Linked DNA regions of Homo sapiens: region 2 is linked to region 1. The links are contacts of gene promoters, found by promoter capture Hi-C in human tissues and cell types (Jung and others, 2019). All regions are on one chromosome and are shown on one strand. Each heading gives the region's core, a stretch centred on a gene start or on the middle of the fragment in contact. The rest is flanking DNA. Distances are from core to core; before and after follow the strand shown. Region 1 holds the start of GNG5 (G protein subunit gamma 5). Region 2 overlaps LOC124904205 (a long non-coding RNA gene).

Region 1 (4,174 bases), core at 1,389-3,888:
GCATTCCAAACAGTGAGGAAAGCTGAGACAAAGACTCTAAAACTGGAACAAGCTGCTAGCCCCTAAGGCACTGTAACAATCACCATCCAGGAGGTTGAAACCCTGTAATCCTGGCCTATTAGTGCCCCTTCTCACTCTCAAAAATGTCCTGACCTACCTATGACAGTTTGTCAAGCACTTATGGTAAGTTCTATCAATTGTACTCACACATAAAGGTTAAAAGTAAGATTGTGCTAGTTTAAAAATCTCACAAAAAAATCACCTAGCCCAGTCATTGATAAAACAGATACACAACGTTAAACCACATTTAGCAACATGTCTAAAGAAAAGCTCATTAAAAAGTACAAAAGGGGATGCTCCCCTTCTTGCTACAGCCTTAACATCAGGCAATAACTCCAAAACCAAATCATGTCTGGTGCCTTTAATGATCCCGACCAGAACCAGAAGTCTACTGAAGATTTAGGTAGGATCAGTTTTGGGGAATTAGGGGAGCAGCAGCTAGGGTTTTCAAAGTAAAGCTCTTGGAGTATTTTAGCCTGAGAACCTCATGTCATTTTCTTTGGAGACTAAAGATGTACAATTTATTGCTTTCACTATCCCACCCCCATTTTTTTTTCTTGGTCCATCCTATCTATGATAAAGGCACACCTGAATGACATTTAATGGTTACGAAATAAATGATTTCGAGTTTCAGAGCCAAATCCAGCCAAGACTGACTAGAAACCACTGTGATGAGGTAAGAATTGGGAGAGTAGAGAAATGGATTCCAAACTGCAGTGAGGTCTACAGCATTTCAAGGACTGGACGTGAGGGGGATCCCACACCAAGACGAATGAGAATTCCCTTCCCTTCTGAGTTGACCACAACTGAGTAAGCTAGGTCCCTGACATTTCTAGTTAACAAAACTAAATGGGAGACTCTCTCTCAGGAGGATCCTGCACCAAGACGAATGAGAATTTCCCTTCCCTTCTGAGGTGACCACAACTGAGTAAGCTAGGTCTCTGACACTTCTAGTTAAGAAAGCTTAGAGACCCTCTCAGTTCACAAAACATTTCGGCAAGTAATAAAGACTAGCCTGATGAGTATAAAATCAAATCATCTTAGGAACTGGCTGCTTTTAACAGGGCACATGATTTACATTCTTGTTTCTTTTTTTAACTGCAGAAGTGTTTCACATGTAGCCTGACCTATTGTACCAGAAAGAAGCCAATCCATTTAGGACTGTAAAAATCAGGAAATACTTAGAACAGCACTTGAATGTCAAGTTATTCTATCAACACAGACAAAAGGCTTTTTCTCCCAAAGTACCCCAAGACAAGGCCAATACTAACCAGACGCCAAAATAAGACCAATAATTACCCACAATAATCATTTTCTCCGGCATGCGGACCAGTCGATATCCCCAAGGTCAAATATGAGCAAACTGTGCCATAGGTATGAAATGCACGCTTTGTTCGAGGTTGTACGGGGCACTGACCGGAACTTTACACTCCAGGATCGTTTCGAAAAATGCTTATTCAATCCACAGTTTAAGTTATGCAATAATTCGCTTAAAAGTATGTGTTCAACGGACAAGAGAAGTTGAAGGTAAGAATTTAATACTAAAGGAAGTAGGTTTGGGAAAGATCAAATGGGAGAAAAGTCTGCTCTGAATCAAAAGTCGGAAAATACCCTGTCCGATGAGAAACAGGAGGCTGGCAAAGTGGGAAAGGAAGGGTGCGGACAGCGCGCGGAGGCGCAGCTGTTGGTGAGACCAGCCGAGAAGGCTGCCAAGGGAGGTAGAGACGGAGGAGGACCGGAATGTCGGCCACGGTTCAACCCAGGGGCCAGCCCGCCTCGGAAAGTCCTGGGGCGGAAGGGCGAACTAATCGTCCCCCTAAAACACAGCGTAGACCCACGCGGCGCCTGCTCTAAAGCTGGCCGCTCCCCGATCGCCGCCGCTGAGCGCGCGTCCTCTCCAGGGGAAGCGAGGGCCGGCGCGTGTCCCGCCCGCCCCCGCCAGCTGGGCCGCCGGATCCCACCCGCCGCCGCCGCCTTCCTCCCGCCTCGGCCGCCCGCCCCCGCTCACTTTTACGCGGTTGAGTCCGGCCTCCAGCCGGAGCTGTTGAACCACTTTCTTCATAGCGGCGACGCTGGAGGAGCCAGACATGGTGCACGCGACGGCCGGGCCGATTCGTGGGTCGGTGGGTCGTGGGCCGTGGGTCGGCGGGGCCAGACAACTCAGCGGCGCGCGGCGGGGGCGGGGCTCCGAACTTTGTCTCTAAGTTTCCGGTTCTGTGCTCAGCGGCTCCACCCTCGGTGCGCATGCGCGCCTTGCCAGCCCTCTGTTCCAGCTCCACACCCGGCCCCGAGCGCGAGCCTGGAGGAGGGGGAGGAGAAGGGGCGGAGCAGTCGGTGGGCGCGGCGGCTGCTGGAGGCTAGCGCGACCCGACTCTTAAGTTTTCTTTTCCTCTCCAGAGGGGCCGATTAGGGAGAGGTAAGGAGAGAGCTTACCGTTAGCCGCGAAGAACTAAGAGGGGGTCTGAAGAGGACCAGGGAGGGAAGGCAGAGCTTGTGGGAGTTTCTAAAAGGCCCGGCGGCGGGTGACCAGGAGGTCTCAGTTTTCCTCCCAGTTTGTGGGAAGGGTTGAGGGAAGTGAGGGGAGATACTGGGTGAGGCGTAGGAGCTACTGTGCACCCGGCGTGAGTCACCCGCACACCCCCGCCCCGTACAGGCGTGTCTCTCTGTGACCCGAGTTTGGCCAACAGGCATTTTCAGTTCCACCCCCAACCCCCAGCCCCGCTGACCCGAGGCGGAGAGCAGGCGCGGAGGTCGCTGTCGCGTACCCAGCGGAGCCGGGCGGGCGGGGAGCAGGGGCGCTGATTCGCTGGAGAAGGGATCTTCTCGAGGTTTGACTTTACTGGCTTCTTAGCTCTTGAATCGGTTTTTCTGAAGGAGATTGTGAAGAAGCCAAGGTGCTGGCTGAAGATTACACCTGTCTGCTCGGTTACCCATTTACTCTGGAGAATTAATGCTTATTGTACTTTTTAAAATAAAACTTATTTTTGTGTTTCCGGAAAGTTTGCTCTTTAGTATTTCCGTTGTAATTTATTACCTCCTGCTTGAAATTGAGTACCAAAGGAGTTTTTAGGAGAGAGGGTAGGGTCTAACCAAACAAAATAGGCTCAGCCAGTAGGTCTTTCTTTCATCCACGGAAATATGTGTGTTATGTCACAGCACTAAGGGCAGATGTTTCCTATTTCTTTTCGGGTAGTCAATCTCCGAATGCGCTGATGTTTTCCATTAATGTTAATAATTTTATCATTAATGGATTTCAAATTTTTTATTAGGGAAGCATGTGTAATTGCACTGGTCAACAAAATCTAATTTATTTACTCAACAGTTTATATCAGTTCGCAAAAATGTACATCGTAAGTTTAGCATTTTACTTAATTCATACGGATGTAATGATTGGGGTTAAAACCAGGGTTTGAATTCTGGCTCTGCTACTTACGGTATTCTTGGGCAAGCCACTTAAGTTACTGAGGCTTTATTTCCTTATTTCAAAGTAAATTATACAGCTTCGTAGAGTTGTTTTTCGGAATGAAATGACATTATATGTAAAAAGAATGTGAAAGCTATCTCAATAAATATTGTCTTTTCCCAAAAGGTATTGTAATTATTTCACCTTTGGTGCTTTGTTGACTGTATAATGCTAAAACGTCATTCATACTTTACAGATTTGTAAGATTAAACACAAGTATCTATTCAAAGAATGATCTGTTTTACAGTAGTTGTAAAATATATCACTGAACTCTTAGAACCGTGGTATGTTAATGCTGGAAGAGATTTTAGGGAATATATGGTCCAATAATTACTTCTGTGAGGGAGACTGTTGAGGAATAAGCAGTGTTTTAGGCCGAAACAGTTTCAGAAAAAAAAAAAATTGTTGCTTTTTTATTAACTGCTGCATTGGGAAACCACAGACTGGAGTGCTGTCTCAAACACCAGGTGTTATTTTTTTGTAGCGTGTGTTTAAAGATTCTATTTAGGATACAAAAGAAAAATAAAACATTGAGGCCTGGTATGGTGGCTCACGCCTGTAATCCCAGCACTTTAGCAGGCTGAGGCGAGCAGATCACGAGGTCAAGAGATCGAGACCATCCTGGCCAACGTGGGGAAACCGTCTCTACTA
Region 2 (4,198 bases), core at 619-3,118, 500 kb before region 1:
GAGCTAGAGAGAAAGAGAATACTTAATGCCTTTGATAAAACTGCATTGTGAGCCACAAAATGTTAAATCTTGATGCAAGATATTCCAGTACCTGCTATGTGTTGGTCTCTTACCAAAGCATGTGGTGACATTAACCTCTCAACTTATTCTTGCTGAAGAGAGTGCTTAATTGTGTTGTTTCTCTTTGCGTTTAGCTAACACTTATTAAATCATTAGTGTTTGAGTAACTAGTATTATGTGAAGTAAGTACTATTATCACTCCCATTTTATAAATGAAGAAACTGAGAATTACAAGGGTGTATTAATTTGTCAAAGGTAGCACAATTGGAAAGAGACAAAGCTGGATTTCAAACACTAACCAATACATGACGTGAATATCAGCATACTTTTACTGTCTCCTGCTATAGAGAACATGTACATTGCATGTTTCTCTGCAGCAGAATCTATTTTTTATTTATTATTAAAAACCTGTTTTCAACTCTCATTTCTAAGAGGAAATGAGTCATTTCCCACAGAAGATTTAAACATTGGATACCCTTTTCTAGGTTTCTGTGCTCAGAAAAGAGACCCTGAATTTAAGAATAAGAAGTGAACCTTGTAACATAAACTTGACCAGTGATGCCTAAAATTCTTGCTGCAAAATTATGATTGCAGGAACTCCTGCATGAGACTCTGGAAACTAGATTCCTATGAAGTTCTGTAGGTGGTTCTAATGTACAGCCAAGTTTGACCAGACCATACTGGACAAAAACAATATGGGGCCTACAAAAAATAACATTCAGGCTTCTAGACTTAACCCCTTAATCCCACCTTTTATTAAGAAGGAAATAAGAGGCTGTTATTTAAAACCTACATTATGTAATTTTACATTTATCATATAAAATGTATTTATTAAAGGGTTTAGAATTTTTCTCAGTGTTGTTTTTGTCATTCTCAACAAATCTTCAAAAAGCCCCAAATTTAAAATGATACTCATTCAAAATTACTTTTATATATAGATATTGGACTTTAAGCCCTTTTTAATTATTATACGGCATTTTATATAAGACAAAAAGTCATATTGCATTAGACTTTTGTTTTAATTTTTGGAGAATTTACATGACAGTAAGTCATTTCATCCAAGAAGATAATAAGCTTTTCTAGTTTATGTTTTTTCATTTCCCAATCATATTTTTATAATTTTGCTTATATATGTTCTGTAACTTTCTTACCAAAGTTGTACCAAATTTTTTATAGCACTTGTATTCTGAATGAAATGTTCTTTCCATTTCCTTTTGTAGGGTCTTCTACCAGAACAGAGAGATGATGCTTTCTGTAATTTATTTTGTATTCATTCAGTGCACCAAATTATCTTATTACTTGTTTTTTCATGAGTCCCTTGGATTTTCCAAGAAAACAGGCATATCAGCAATATCAAGAACTTTGTTTCTGGCTGGGCACAATGGCTTATGCCAGTAATCCCAACACTTCGGAAGGCCAGCGTGAAAGGAACACTTGACCCCAGGAATTTGAGACCAGCCTGGGCAACATAAGGAGATCTGTCTCTATAAAAAATAAGAAATTAGCTGTGCGTGGTGGCACCAGCCTACAGTCCCAGCTACTCAGGAGGCCAATGTGGGAAGATCCCTTAGTCCAGGAGTTCAAGGCTGCAGTGAGCCTTGATCACGCCACTGGCTCCACTCCGAGCAACAGAGTGAGACTGTTTATAAAATATATAAAAATGTATATTTGTTATAATTTATACCAGTTATTTTATTTATATTTGTTAGAATCACTAATGTAAGTGATTGTGGTGATGCCTGATTCCAGATTTTAAGTGAAAGATTTAATTTTTGTGATTTGGGATGATGTTCGCTATTGGGCTTTCCTTTATTATAAAAGAAATTTTTTCTGATTCTATTTTGCTTAAAGTCACTTGACTTTTATCTGATGCCTTTCCACAACTTATTGATAATGGTTGGGCTTTTTCCCTTTAATTTTTAATGTAATCAATATGTAGCTAGACTTCCTGATATTGAACCGCCTTTTCATTCCTCTAATAAAGCCTATTTTTTCACACCATGTTATTCACGTGATTCATTCCTCTATTGTATTCTCTGTTATTTAAACATTTGGCAGCTATATTCAGAAATGAAATCAGCCTGTACTTTTAATTGTTGTTTTACTCCTTCTTAGGCTTTGGTACTCAAGTTAGTCTGGCTTCATGAAATTAACTGGGGAACTTTCCATTTTTTTCTAAGACTTACAATAGTTTAAATAATATTGGAATTATCCGTTCTTTAATAGTTAGATTAAAAATTCAGCTGTGAATTCATCTGCCTGTGGCCTTCTTCAATAGCAGATCATTAATCACTTCTCCAATCTCTTCTGTAATAATTGGTCTATTCAAGTTTTTCACTTCTTCTGTGTCAGTTGTGATCATGTATATTTTCCTAGGAAAGTATTCACTTCTTCTAGGTTTTATTTTCCTAATGTGTTGCTAGGATCATCTTTAGTATTTACTTAGAATTCTTTTAATCTCTTTCCTACTTTCACACAATTGATCATGTCTAATTATGATCTTATTATCTTTTCCTTAGCAGGTTCACATGATGTTTATTTTATTTGTCTTTTTAAAGAAGCAATCTTTGAATTTATCATTCTTTTCTACCATTTTATCTATTTTAATAATTTCACTGTTGATACCTCTTCAGAGTTTCTTTTGTTTTCTTTTTGCTATTGTTGTTGTTCTTACATGGACTCATTACTTACTTAATGCCTTTGTACTCACCTTTCTGCTTCCATAATTAAAGGCAACACATTTTCCTCTGAGTTCAGTTTTTGCTGTGTCCCATTATTTTTAGAGTGTTTGATTTGTCAATGTTTCTGGACATTTCTATATTATTTAATTTCCTCTGTCATACAAGGTTTGTCTTATTATGTGCTTCTTTATTTCCAATTTATTTTACTGAACTGTGGTGAGAGGATGTAACCTGTAAGCTTTCTACTTCTTTGAATTTGGTTTTCCTTTCAGCTAAGCACATGATTTGTTTTGTAAAAGTTTTAGGGAACTATGAAATATATGTGTATATATGTGTGTGTGTGTGTGTGTGTGTGGGTGGGGGTGTGTATATATATGTGTGTGCGTGTGTATGTGTGTATTCAAAGAATAAAATGTACTATATTAATATGTGCTCATGCCTGTAATCCCAACACTTTGAGAGGACAAGGCAGGAGCATCCCTTGAGGCCAGGAGTTCAAAACTAACCTAAGCAACAAAGTGAGACCCTGTTTCGACAAAAAAATTGGCACACCTGTAGTCCCAGCTGCTAGGGAGGCTGAGGTGGAAGGATCACTTGAGCCCAGAAGTTCGAGATTACAGTGAACGATGATTGCACCACTGCATTCAATCCAGGTGAAAGAGTGAGACCCTATCTCAAAAAGAAAGTGCCATAGTCTGAAAGTTTATGTTCCCACAAAATTCATATGTTGAAACCTAATTATCAATGTGATTTTATTAGAAGGTGGGGCCATTGGAAGACAATTAGGTCATGAGGGCAGAGCCCTCATGAATGAAATTAATGCCTTATAAAAGAGGCCCCAGCCAGCTACCCTGCCCTGCCCATCATGTGAGGACACCAGGGAGAAAGCGTCATATATGAACCAGAAAGCAGGCCTTCACCAGACACTAAATCTGCTGGCACCTTGATCTTGAACTTTACAGCCCCAGAACTGTGTCTATGGTATTTTGTTATAGCAGCCTGAATGGACTATGACAATGTTTAACATGTTAAGTTTAATAATTGTATTACTCACTTACTCTATGTTGTCTCCATAGCTTTTCTTTTTTGTCAAAATCATTTCATTTCTGGGAGAGATACACTGAAAAATCCAGAACAATTATTTTTATCATGTTCTTTAATTTCCTTTTTCTAATTTAAATAAAATGTCCCCTTGCAGTCCTAAAAGTTTGGCTTGTTTATTTAGTTTTTTTTATTTTGTTTGCTAAAAACAGAACATATAATCAATTTGATAATATCTTTCCTTATATTTCTTAGTGCTTTAACCTTCTATTCTGCATTGTTTGCTGTTAAAATTGCCTCTGTTCATACTTTTCTGTGCTTTTTCATTGTCTGGTTTGGTTCTTCTTTTATCTTCAGGCTCTTTTATTACTGTATTTTAGGTATGCATTTTTCAAAAAACATAAATCTACTTTTTA

Evidence for each region. Contacts are between HindIII fragments. The study calls those that stand out against the background at their distance.
Region 2: a fragment that was not itself captured here is called in contact with the fragment with the promoter of GNG5 in region 1 in 1 of the 25 tissues and cell types used here (hippocampus).

Annotation. Positions count from the first base shown.
Region 1 is chr1:84,503,943-84,508,116 of GRCh38, forward strand. GNG5 (G protein subunit gamma 5) reads right to left here and starts at 2,639. Exons shown (of 4, transcript NM_005274.3): 1 at 2,494-2,639; 2 at 2,069-2,359. The coding sequence starts at 2,149. SPATA1 (spermatogenesis associated 1) reads left to right here and starts at 2,444. Exons shown (of 14, transcript NM_001397487.1): 1 at 2,444-2,476. RefSeq lists an enhancer at 1-245 and silencers at 1,905-2,034, 2,285-2,364. The HindIII fragment of the contact is 15,510 bases long and covers 1-4,174 here.
Region 2 is chr1:84,001,996-84,006,193 of GRCh38, forward strand. It overlaps LOC124904205 (a long non-coding RNA gene), which reads left to right. Exons shown (of 2, transcript XR_007066195.1): 2 at 1,281-2,058. Among named protein-coding and RNA genes, the nearest start is that of TTLL7, 5.0 kb to the left of the region's middle. The HindIII fragment of the contact is 3,634 bases long and covers 52-3,685 here.